Regions from separate parts of the Homo sapiens genome. Here all the other regions are linked to region 2. Evidence: promoter capture Hi-C in 16 types of primary human blood cells and fetal thymus (Javierre and others, 2016). All regions are on one chromosome and are shown on one strand. Each heading gives the region's core, a stretch centred on a gene start or on the middle of the fragment in contact. The rest is flanking DNA. Distances are from core to core; before and after follow the strand shown. Region 1 overlaps MITF (melanocyte inducing transcription factor). Region 2 holds the start of LMOD3 (leiomodin 3). Region 3 holds the start of MITF (melanocyte inducing transcription factor). Region 4 has its middle 86 kb from the start of MITF.

Region 1 (3,038 bases), core at 404-2,903, 720 kb before region 2:
AACATCTGTTCTTCACACTGTAATCCATAGATATTGGTTTTTCATAGCAGCATTTCATAAGTATTGAGTACTTACGGAGTACTCATTGAGTACTCAAGGTTATAGTCCCTGGCAAGGACCTGGAGCGAGGTATTCTATAGGGTTTTCAGTTCAAGGCCATTTGCTTTACTGGACAGCCCATCTGGCAGTGGAACTGAAAGTTGTCAATGCCAAAGCCCTTGGCACACCTCCAGACTCCAGCCAGGGAAGGATATGTAGGTAGGACCGAAACTCTCCACAAGAAAAATAACTTTCTGTGTCTGTTCCAGGTCACAAACAAACAAACAAACAAAATAAAGTTTACACCACACAGCAGTGCTCTGTGGAACCCCTGGGGTGGTGATGGGGAGGTTGGGTTCCACACTGGGCTCCTGACATACCTAGAGCTAGTGCAGCTTTTTTTCATCCATCTCAGTCAGTTCTGCCATCACGTTGATTTTGGAAATGCAAATTTGTTACACAGTAAACAACTTGAGCATATCCCCCAAGAATTTTGGTTTGCTTGTGCGTGATTCTGTCTTCAAGAAACAGTAGGTGAACACCCTGAAAACTGCACCCAGCTGCACCAAGCACACACTTCAAACATCTACCGGCTACCTCCGTTTACTAAGAGTGTTATGCATCACACTCATTCACTTCTGATGCTATAATTTTTGATCCAGTTTCAGATAAGCTTCCTTCTACCACTGCATAATAACTCACCAGCTGCAACTCTTCTGAAGCCACTTCTACAAGCAAAATCCAGGTGTTATTCAAAGCAAAGTAACAAGTTTGTTGTTGTATTAATGTATCGCTTAAATTAAAGGGTATAAATCTGTCTACTGTGTTTATTAGCTTCCTATCTTTTCTTTTTTCAGATGTCACTGATGAAATTTTTTAGCATTGTGCTCCTAGCCCCATTTTTCCTATACATCGTGTGTTGTCTACTGCATGATTTTGGAGTAGCCTGATGATTTTTTAGAAACACATATGTTGTGTTATAGCAGAACTGACTATACTTGGATTTTACATAAAATCTTATTTGAAAAAATGAATTTTGCTAGAATGTAAGTTCCACTCAAAGCTACTATGCTGCCCAACTACAGAGGACACCGCTCACTTCATATTTGATAGGTATCATGTTTACTATTAATTCATCAACGGGAGATTTAACAAAGAGTTATGTAAAGCTTAACATATGTCATGAAAGTATACTGCTCCGAAGAATGTATTTGCCCACTGTGGTAAACTAAAGGCAAACAAAAATATATAAAAAACAAATTATTCATCATCTTCACAGGTAAACATTTTGATATTTTTCCTTTCAGTCTTTTTTCTTCGTACATATAACACCACTATCCCTGCCCTGTGCACAATTTCACTTGACCTACTTATTTTAGCTTGGCTTTAAAATTGACCTGCCACTTCTAAATTAAATATGATTTCTTTTCAGAGACGAAAAGAAGTACTGCCAAATTGACTCAATCATTTAACATTAATTAATTAACATTAATTTAAGATAGTGCATGCTTTCTGCTGAGCACTGTGCTCTGTGACATACAAATTAGAATATTCCATAGTCTGTGCTTAAGCACTAAGAGGACTGATTAAAGTTTCCAAATTTGGCACAGCTGCAACCTTTCTTACCCTTAAGATGAATTACTATTTTCATTCCAGTTCTAAGATTTGTTAAAAATATAAATTGTATAAATAGCACACTCAGAAAAGAAAATGGACTTGTATTATTAGTGTCCTGCAAATTACAGCTTCAAGAATTGCATCCTGCACTTTTTATCTATCACCTTTTCAAATATTATACCACCAAAATTAACTATACAAAACAAAGATGTGTTTGAACATTTTAAGCAGTAAACATACACATTAAAGTGTCATGAAGATTGCCTACTATTTTTCCCTCTTCTTTCTTCCAATAATTATTTTAAGATCTGATTATTTTGTATGTGTGAATATGGATTTAAGGGTTTAATAAATTACATCGAAGATATATGTACTTAAGCCTAGTCTTGAATGTATTCTCATCTACTAAAAGGTGAAATATGTCTGTCATTCCATAAGCTTAATTAAGTTTCTGAACTGGCAACACACAACTAGGAGTAAAAAGCAGTTTAGAGGCCTGGTGTGGTGGCTCACACCCATAATTCCAGCACTTTGGGAGGCCAAGGTGGGTGGGTCCCTTGAGGCCAGGAGTTCAAGACCAGCTTGGCCAACATGGTGAACCCCCATCTCTACTAAAAATGCAAAACTTAGCTGGGCATGGTGGCATGTACCTGTAATCCCAGTTACTCGGAAGGGTGAGGCACGGGAATTGCTTGAACCTAGAAGGCAGAGAGGTTGCAGTGAGCTGAGATCGCAGCACTGCACTCCAGCCTAGGTGACAGAGTGAGATTCTGTTTCAAAAAAAAAAAAAAAAGAGAAAAAAACAGTTTTGTGCTTCATCCTGAATCACCTTTCGATGACATGTTGAGAAATACTGACAAATGATGACAACAGGACAAAATCCAAAGAGGCTGGATAATTCACATATCTAATAATCTGCTCTGAAATCATTGATAATTAATTTTCCTGTCGATCTCTTTTTTTAAAAAAAGCTCTTTGGTAAGTCATTATGGAGGTTAAAGAATGGCAGAAGAGGTGCCAATCTCCACCACATTTTATTCTTCCCTTTCCGAGGTGCCAATCTCCATCACATTTTATTCTTCCCTTTCTCTCATTGAAAGGAGCAATTGTCTTCTTATTCTAACAATGTCTGGATGGTAGCTGAGCCTTCCATCAAGACTCCTGTCCCTTTCAAAGACCTCTGTGTATATGTGACACGATGGATTAAGTGTTCCAGCTCACCCCGGGCAATTAATTTTCTCAAACCTCACAGTGGTTCACCTTATTGTGCCCATAGAAGTGTTCCTGGCACAGCCTTTTGAGAAGGGGTGAAAGCAAACCCCATCACATTTCTACCAAAGAAGATCTCACAGCAGAGGACAGATGACCACCCTTGCAAGGAG
Region 2 (2,784 bases), core at 201-2,700:
ATATAAAGAATCCTAACAGAGGGCAATAAAAAATTATTTAGTAGTAGAGTACACAGTTGCCTAGAAAAAAAGAATCCTGACTTTCTCAGTCAAAAAAACAGATGAGAAAAAATGATAGAGTTTGTATGCCTAAAAGAAAGGACTGGAATGAAAAAACTGAAATGTTAATAGTGGTAGCTTCACAGTGAGGTAAGGGGAAGATTTTGTTCTGTGCCTTTCTATGTTATCCTAACTCTTGTACAATGAATGTATATTTCGGAATAAGAATATATTTACGAGCCAGGCACGGTGGCTCACGCCTGTAATCCCAGAACTTTGGGACACCGAGGCAGGTGGATTGCTTGAACTCAGAAATTCGAGACCAGCCTGAGCAATATGGCAAAACCCTGTCTCTACAAAAAATACAATTAGCTGGGTGTAGTGGTGCATGCCTGTGGTCCCAGCTTGATCCTGGGAGGCAGAGGTTGCAGTGAGCTGAGATCGCAGCACTGCCCTCCAGCCTGGGTGACAGAGCCAGACCCTGTCTTAAATATATATATAATAAAACTTGTATATTATATATTATTGTACCCTTTGTCACACAAATAATGGCATGTAAAACACACTGTTTTGTACTTTGCTATATTGTGTAACCTTGTACACACGTTGTTTCACCCATGTAGGGGTATATCTGTAGGATACACTTCTCAAAGTGGAATTGCTGGGTCAAAGGAAATGGGCATTTGTAATTTGGACAAATGTTGCATATTGCCCCTTCAGGGTTTGAAAACAAAATCTTCTCATAGTTTCTTTTAGTATATTAGTGGTCTGGATTTCTTTTTTAACACTTCACTTTAGAGCCATTTTCATTGATATTGGCTTAATGGATACTTAATAAGAAAAGCAAATAATTTAAAATATTAAACTCACTTATAGTGGAAATCCAAGTGCTGGTTGTCCCCATCTGTTAGATCACAGGATCTAGATGCAAACAGGACATCTTGCAAAGGTTCGGCTTACACAGAGGATGAGTGACATAGCAAGACCTCTGTTCCACTGTGCACCACTTTATTTGCTTCCACACTCACCTTGTAGGGAAGAGGCAGACCCTAAGAGCTTGATTTCTACCTTCAAGTGAATTCTTTACTTCAGAAACAACTCAGGTTGCTGGTTGGATTTCCCTTCTGAAATATTGTAAGTTGCTTTAATATTTAAATAAAAACAAGTGGAATCCCCTGGAGTATTGGGGTATGTATGTATGAGCTGCATGAATTTGTGTATGGCAATATGATGGCATATAGGAAGATAATTAATTTTATTCCTGCAGAGATTCTGTAGTCTCTGCTAGTCTCTGGCAAACATAGCAGCTGTACTGAAATGTCAGATGGATTTGCGCAGCTGACTCAAGTTGCCAAAAAGAGAGCAGCATAGTTGTTCCATAAATTGACCCCATCCAGCCAAGCCCTGCTTAATATAGATCCGGCAAGAGCTTAGCTGTGATCACTCCTAGCTGCTCAGCAAACCACTGAGGTTCCTGGGAAAAAAAAAAAAATATCTCAAGGGTGTGTTAACTTGGGACACTCGTTAACTGGGGGACCTTCTTGAGGCTTTTTTCCTTCTTTTTAAAAATCATCTTTGATTATTCTTCTTTTCTAGTAAAATAATATTTAGAAAAAATAATGTCAGAGCACAGCAGAAATTCAGATCAAGAAGAACTTCTCGATGAGGAGATTAATGAAGATGAAATCTTGGCCAACTTGTCTGCTGAAGAACTGAAAGAACTGCAGTCGGAAATGGAAGTCATGGCCCCTGACCCCAGCCTTCCCGTGGGAATGATTCAGAAAGATCAAACTGACAAGCCACCGACAGGAAACTTCAATCATAAATCTCTTGTTGATTATATGTATTGGGAAAAGGCATCCAGGCGCATGCTGGAAGAGGAACGAGTTCCTGTCACCTTTGTGAAATCCGAGGTAACCAGAGATTTGTGTACAACCGAGAAATGGCTGCCTGGGATGGGCTGTTAGGTCTCTCTGTTGTAACTGTGATTTCTCAAGACTCCAGGGTTTGGTTCTGCTTTGTTTTTGCCATATCTAGATTAAACCATAATATTTAATCCTACTCCGACTGGAACTTTCTGAAACACATTTATATTTACAAGGGGAAAATTGGGTAATTTCTTGCAAATGTCTCTTTTTAAAAATTGCTGTCGGGTTTGCTGTGTCAGAAAGCCTGTGTTCTATTGCCACGATACTTAGTGACTTAACTCATAACCCAGAGGCAGTTGTCCTTACCTCTCTCTTTCTTTTTTATTGCAGGCCCCTTTGAGAAAGTAATGACAGCTCTGTAGCCTCTGTCTCTCTGGCACATCCAAACATACGCAGTGTTTCGCACACAGTGTCAAACATTTCAGTCCTCCTGAAGTCTGGCCACACAACCTGCAATTAAACCAAGTCGAATAACCAGAAAATGTCTTATATTATTACTATGTATTGGCTGTCAGTGATGACATTTAGAAATCGATGGCTATTAAGTGGTTTTGAAGCTAGTTCTTCACTTTCTAAAACCTGAAAGCTAGAATTGTTAACTCTGCAAACTTACTGTGCATGAGCATAATTTTTTTTTTTATGTTCCACTTGAAAATGACTTAACAAAAAGAGGACAGAGATGCCTCCTAGGTAAAGTCTCTTTAGGTTATGCCTGTTTACAAAGATACATCTTGTTAAATTACTCTGAAGCTGGCTGTAATTAAGGAAAGTTGTCAATTGGTTTTACAGTCAGTAGAGTTTAAACATGTGCTAAGAT
Region 3 (2,700 bases), core at 60-2,559, 620 kb before region 2:
AGAAGCCCTGCTGGATGCTTCCAATGATAGCCTTATCCTAGCTCACAGCTTAGAGGGGTGGAAATAAACCCTTCTCAGCTATTCCAGCCTCCATTGACCATGTCCCTTTTAGGAAACATTGTAAACGAGAAGTACGAGGCGTCCAGAGTGGCTGCCGGACAGAGAGAACGGAAGACACCCAATCCATTTCGACAGACAAGTGGGAATGGAGGCAGCAAAAAGGGTGGCTCAAGGGAAGTGGGCACTAGAGGGGATGGGGCATCAGAGCAGTGGATGTCTTCACTCCTCGTCTAAAAAGTTTCTGAAGTCCCCAGCGAATTAAACACGTGTCTCTGCCAAGCGGGGTACACTCCCAGTAACCCCCAAGACCAAGGCTCATTTCCCCTCTGCAGGTAAGGCCTGGATTTGAATGGGACTCTATTTCCAGAGAGTTTAACTTGAACAAGGGGACACGCCCACCGCTGCCCTGGCCCCTCCCGCGCCCGCTAGCAGCGGTCTGGAGGTGAGAGGCGGAGCCCAGAGAAACCTCACCTGCAGGAGCCCAGAGGCTAGTTTCCCCACAGAGACCGGACTCCCAAGAGGTGACTCCAAGCGAACTAATTGCTTCCCTCCAATGTCGCATCTCAGTCCACCCAAAGCTCTCCCTCTCCGAGCCCTCAACCCGCTGGGATCTTCAGAAAGGGGGTTCACTAGAACTCTTTCTCCCCCATCCCACCGGGACAGCGTCCCGGCCCGGCGCTCCTCCTCCCCCACATCGCGCCAGGTCGCTCCCCAGCCCCCAATCAGTCTCAGCAGCTGGCATCCTCGGCCGAGGGTCCCCGCGCCTGGACGCTTCGTCCCCGGCGACCCGCCGCGCCCCCGCGAAGTGCGCTCCATCCGAGCTTCCTAAAGGCGCACTTGGGCCGGGCAGGCGCGGCCCCCAACTGCGAGGGGCAGTTCGCCCTCTGCTCCGGGGCAAGGGCACTGGGTCCTTGTCCCAGAGCTCCCGCGACCCGCTCTCCTCGCCCCAGAGTGGCAGACGCAGTGCCCCCCAGCCGCCCGGTGCGCCTCTGCCCAGCTGTCACCACTCACCTGCTCTTCAGCGGTTGACTTTTGAGTTCGTAATAGGTTTTGGGCTCTTCATGAAACTCCTCCCCGACTTCGAAATCCGGCACGATCCCCGATTCGGACTGCATGGCTCCCGCTTCCCGTCCTTCCACTGCTGGAAAGTGAGAACAGAGCCCGGGGGCGGAGGGAAGGTAGCTGGGCCTGGGTCCCCCGAGCCGTGCGCCCCGGCGCAGTGCCGAGCTCTGCCCGCTCGCCGGCTCGCGGCCGCCCGCCCCAGCGCGGGGAGTTTACACTCGCACCCGGGCGGGAGGGGCTGGCGGCCGAGCGCCGCCTGGGATCTGTAGTTCGGCCCGGGCGGGGCATTCCCAGCTCGCCTGGGGAGCCGCTCCCACGAAAACTACAGCTCCCAGAAGGCCAGGCGGGGGAGAGGCAACGTGGTGGACACCGCTAGTGCAACTCCTGTTTGGATTCATTGTCAATGTCAGCAGCTCCTCTCCCTCCTCTCTCCCCACTTGCTTCAAGGGTACAGACTTGGCTACTTAATATGAATAAGAATGGACACTGACTGCTCTTCTACCATCGCCCCGACCTCTCAGCTCAGACATCTGCGAGGGCACGCCAAGTGCTTATTTTAAAAATAAAATAGTCAAGGGTTTTGGCACAAGAAAGTTTTAGCATTCGAGCCTGTCTTAAAATAAAAGGACTTCCTATCAGCTCGCATGCTTCCCTGGGCTGCTGCGACATATCAGCTTGTCCTCGGATTGGAACAACGAGGAAGAACTTTCCTTCGCTCTGTAATGAAAACGTTATTGGAGAAATTGTTCTTGTGCGTTCCTTTTCTAGAACTAAGTCTGGACTTTTACAATAGTATTCATCAGTTGAATGGCTCTTTCCCCTTTATCCAAGTAGCCACTTCTAATCTACAGCAGCAATTGAAAGATTCGGTTAATTTTAAAAGGCACAAAGTTACAAAATAGCGTCGTTGCTCTCTGCTTTTAATTTCTCAGTTGACTGGGAGTTCAAATGAGATTTGTCCTAGCATTTCAGGAGTGAAGATGTACAAGTGAACTGTACAAGTGTCCACCCCTTCCCGAGCTTCCCGGAACTCACTTAGGGAAGAGAATTTTAAAACTCTCCGTTGTGGCTCATTTGTACTTCTAGTTCTTCCCTCTGATTAGCTCCAGTAGGACGTGTTCCTTCTTTTCAAAAGTGTTTTGAGGCATCAGGGAGGCAGTATAGAGTTACAGTGGCATTTAAAGGTATAAGACTCAGAGTTGAAATCCCCAGTCCTTCTAAGAAGAGCTGTGCAATCCTGAGCATGTCACTTGGTTCCTAGAAGCCTCCATTTCTTCATCCATAAAAGAAGAGATTGGCAAACCAGTTTTAGAAGATGTTGCAAGGTCAAATGTAAGAGAAAGTGATTTGCAATCTATAAAAACTCTGCTCAGTGGTCATTCTTTATTAGGTCTTGAAGTTATTCCTTTCAGATTAACATCTCATTTTGGTGTTTGGCCTTTCAGAATTAATAAACTAAATGACTGTCCTAGGAGAAAATTCTAAAGAGGCTACAGTGACAACTGGGCACCTCCCAGGAGTTACCCCTTTGCATATCTTGCCTCCCACTGAAACATTTTAATTTCACATCAGAAAAGA
Region 4 (3,062 bases), core at 48-2,547, 530 kb before region 2:
ATACATTTTATAGAATCGGTAGTCTTCCAGGTAGGTTTAACTACATATATGGAATAAAATATCAAGATTTAGCTGTGTTTTTGTTCAAAGAGCATGTTTCATTGTAATGTAAAACTCCAAACAAACCAACTGTAAAAAGATATTTTTAATACAAAAAGAAAAATTTGAAGAAAAAAACTGACTGGAAATTAGATGATATTAAAAAATCACTGTTAAATGTTTTCAAGTGTGAATAACAATATTGTGGTTACATGAAGAAAAAAGAGTCATTATCTGTTAGAAACACATGCCGAAATGATATGACACCTGGGATTTATCTTAAAATAATTCAGCAGGGTGGTAGGGAGACTTAGGGGAAAAGGCATAAAAATGAAACAGAAAGAGCTGTGCATTCTTAATTGTTGAATTGGATAATGGAACATAAGTGTTCATCACACTATTCTCTCTACTATTCTGTATGTTCAAAATTTTTCAAAATAAAAATTTGAAAAGGCTGATGTAAACCCCAGAAAGACAGGATTTCCACCTGTCTTGCTCACTCTCATGCCAAGCACAATAAAGAAATATTTGTCGTTTGGAAGTGTTAGAAATATGTTATTCTGTGTTATGTTGTTTTTATCTTAGTTGCTTGTTAGGCAAAAGTTTTAGGTATTGAAACCTCCTGGCAATTATAGCACAAGAGGGAGATCCTCATTGGTGAAGTATTCAAACACAGACAAGAAGACTTGTTGGGTGTTTATGTGAGATTAATGGATTAGGTAAAGATTTGGAGTAGGTTAATGTTCTCTGTCAACTCCAGGGATCTGTTTAACTTAACGTTAGGAAATGTTTCTCTATCTAGATTTATATTTATGTTTTAGCATTCTGAATAGAGCTGAATGGAAAAAATAAAAATTTTTCTCAAGTTGGGAGTCACCTTCCTTTTGCCCTGGATTTTTTTTTTCTTTAGGTTCCACTGTCTGTTTAGATCTGTGAATGCAATCATGGATAATCCCACAAACTCAACATATTACTCCAAGTAATCAGATTTAAGTGAAAGTAAAGGTAAGCACCAAAAGAGTAGGAATCCCAGTGTTGGGATAGGATTTCTCAGGTGTCATGGACAGCTTATTTAGGATTTAAGGCAGTCAGCTGTACCATCAGCAACGGAAACAGATGGATCTCTTGCTGTTATACTGAACTTCCTTCTATGCCCATCATTCCATAGCCTCTGCTAACTCATACCTTTGCTTTCCTCATGACCCCAAATTCTTTATGGCCTTTCTCTGGACATCTTTGTGTTTCTGTTCCTAAAAGTGACTAGCAACACCATCTCTGTATCTTACTATTTCATATCATTTGAATCCCTAGGGATGGGGTGGGGTAGAAAGTAAAAGAAAGAGAATGAAACTTATTAGTAACCATCATATCTGCCTACATCAAACTTTCTTTTTTTTTTTTTTTTAAGATAGGGTCTCACTCTGTTGCCCAGGCTGGAATGCAGTGGCACAATTTCGGCTCAGTGCAACCTCCACCTCCGGGGTTCAAGCGATTCTCCTGCCTCAGCATCCGGAGAAGCTGGGACTACAGTTGCGTCCCACCATGCCCAGCTAATTTTTGTATTTTTGGTAGAGACAGGGTTTCACCATGTTGGTCAGGCTGGTCTCAAACTCCTGACCTCAGGTGATCCACCTACCTCGGCCTCGCAAAGTGCTGGGATTACAGGCATGAGTCACTGCACCTGGCCTTTTTTTTTTTTTTTAAAGAGTTGGGTCTTGCTCTGTTGCCCAGGCTGGAGAGCAGTGGGATGATCATAGGTCACTGCAGCCTTGAACTCCTGGGCTCAAGCATTTCTACCTCAGCCTCCTGAGTAACTGGAATTATAGGCCTGAGCCACAGCACATGGCAATGCATGAGGCTTCACAGTAGCTCACCCCACAGGTTGCCAGCCTGCTATTGGTTGGCTACTCTTAGATGAACTGTCTATTCCCAATCCATGATTGGGATTATCTGGTCAACATGTAGTTTTGAATTCCTGCATAAAGAATATTTAAGGGTAGGGATTCCCTAGAAGGGACAGGTAGTAGGGGAGGCATTCCATCTTGCAAGCCCATTACATGTTGGCAGTGAGAAAGGGGATAGAGAAGGGAGATGACTCAGGGGTCAGTGGCTGAGATAAGGATGTCAGACAGCAAATTATGTTTAACCAGAAGAAGCAAGTGCAGATATTTGGCCACTGAAGAGACACATAAATTGCACTTAAAATCTAATCTTAGATTTGAATCCCAGGTCTATGTCATACTGGCTGTACAATCTTAGAGAACATTATGTGTCTCTTGGGAAAAGTTTTGTCTCTCTGAACCCACAATTTCCTAGCCTTATCAAAAGGGCATACAACTGCCTCATTTGCAGGGTAGGTGAAAGAGTCATATGAGGTTGTCTTAGTCCATTCGCATTATTATAACAAAATGCCAAGGACTGAGGAATTTATTAAGAATCAAAATTTGTTTCTCACAGTTCTAGAGGATGGAAGTACCAGATTGAGGCACTGGCATTGCTGTCTGGTGAGGGTTGCTCTCTGCTTTCAAGATGGCACCTTGATGCTGTGTCCTCAGTGGCCGAAGGCAGAAGAACAAGAGAGGCAAACTCTCTCTAAAGCTTCTTTTATAAGGGCGTTCATGAGGGCTCCACCCTTATGACTCAATCACCTCCTAAAAGGGTCCAACTCTTAATACCACCACAATGGGGATTAAGTTTCAGCATGAATTTTGAAGGGGACACTACATTCAAACCGTAGCAGATGTAATGAATGCAAAGTCCTCAGCATCACACCAGTATGTAATAGGTGCTTAATAGATGATCTTGTTCTTATCACACCAGTCCTTCTAATGCTCTGTGGGATCCCAGCCTTCTGAAGCTGAATCAGAATCCAAAACCCAGCAACATTCCAGGGAAAATTGTGAGTGGTGGGATTCTTTCCCTTTTACTATATATGTTAAAAGGATTTAACTAATACAGAGGCTCTCCTTCTCCTTAAAAATGACTCCCCACCCCCAACCCCCTGCTGACTTATCCAGAAGTGA

What was found. Contacts are between HindIII fragments. The CHiCAGO score rates a contact against its expected background, and 5 or more counts as called.
Region 1: a contact is called between a fragment that was not itself captured here and the fragment with the promoter of LMOD3 in region 2, in 1 of 17 cell types (monocytes). The highest score is 5.8, in monocytes.
Region 3: a contact is called between the fragment with the promoter of MITF here and the fragment with the promoter of LMOD3 in region 2, in 3 of 17 cell types (fetal thymus, M1 macrophages and monocytes). The highest score is 6.0, in fetal thymus.
Region 4: a fragment that was not itself captured here is called in contact with the fragment with the promoter of LMOD3 in region 2 in 1 of 17 cell types (endothelial precursors); the score reaches 5.4 in endothelial precursors.

What each region holds. Positions count from the first base shown.
Region 1 is chr3:69,840,167-69,843,204 of GRCh38, reverse strand. All of the region lies in intron 1 of MITF (melanocyte inducing transcription factor), which reads right to left. Among named protein-coding and RNA genes, the nearest start is that of MITF, 100 kb to the right of the region's middle. The HindIII fragment of the contact is 886 bases long and covers 1,211-2,096 here.
Region 2 is chr3:69,121,261-69,124,044 of GRCh38, reverse strand. LMOD3 (leiomodin 3) reads left to right here and starts at 1,450. Exons shown (of 3, transcript NM_198271.5): 1 at 1,450-1,952. The coding sequence starts at 1,659. RefSeq lists an enhancer at 1,396-2,595. The HindIII fragment of the contact is 5,880 bases long and covers 1-2,784 here.
Region 3 is chr3:69,738,073-69,740,772 of GRCh38, reverse strand. It overlaps MITF (melanocyte inducing transcription factor), which reads right to left and starts at 1,309. Exons shown (of 10, transcript NM_001354604.2): 1 at 1,072-1,309. The coding sequence starts at 1,175. RefSeq lists a silencer at 1,074-1,373 and a promoter at 1,173-2,700. The HindIII fragment of the contact is 10,451 bases long and covers 1-2,700 here.
Region 4 is chr3:69,651,940-69,655,001 of GRCh38, reverse strand. No RefSeq gene overlaps it. Among named protein-coding and RNA genes, the nearest start is that of MITF, 86 kb to the left of the region's middle. The HindIII fragment of the contact is 2,685 bases long and covers 1-2,639 here.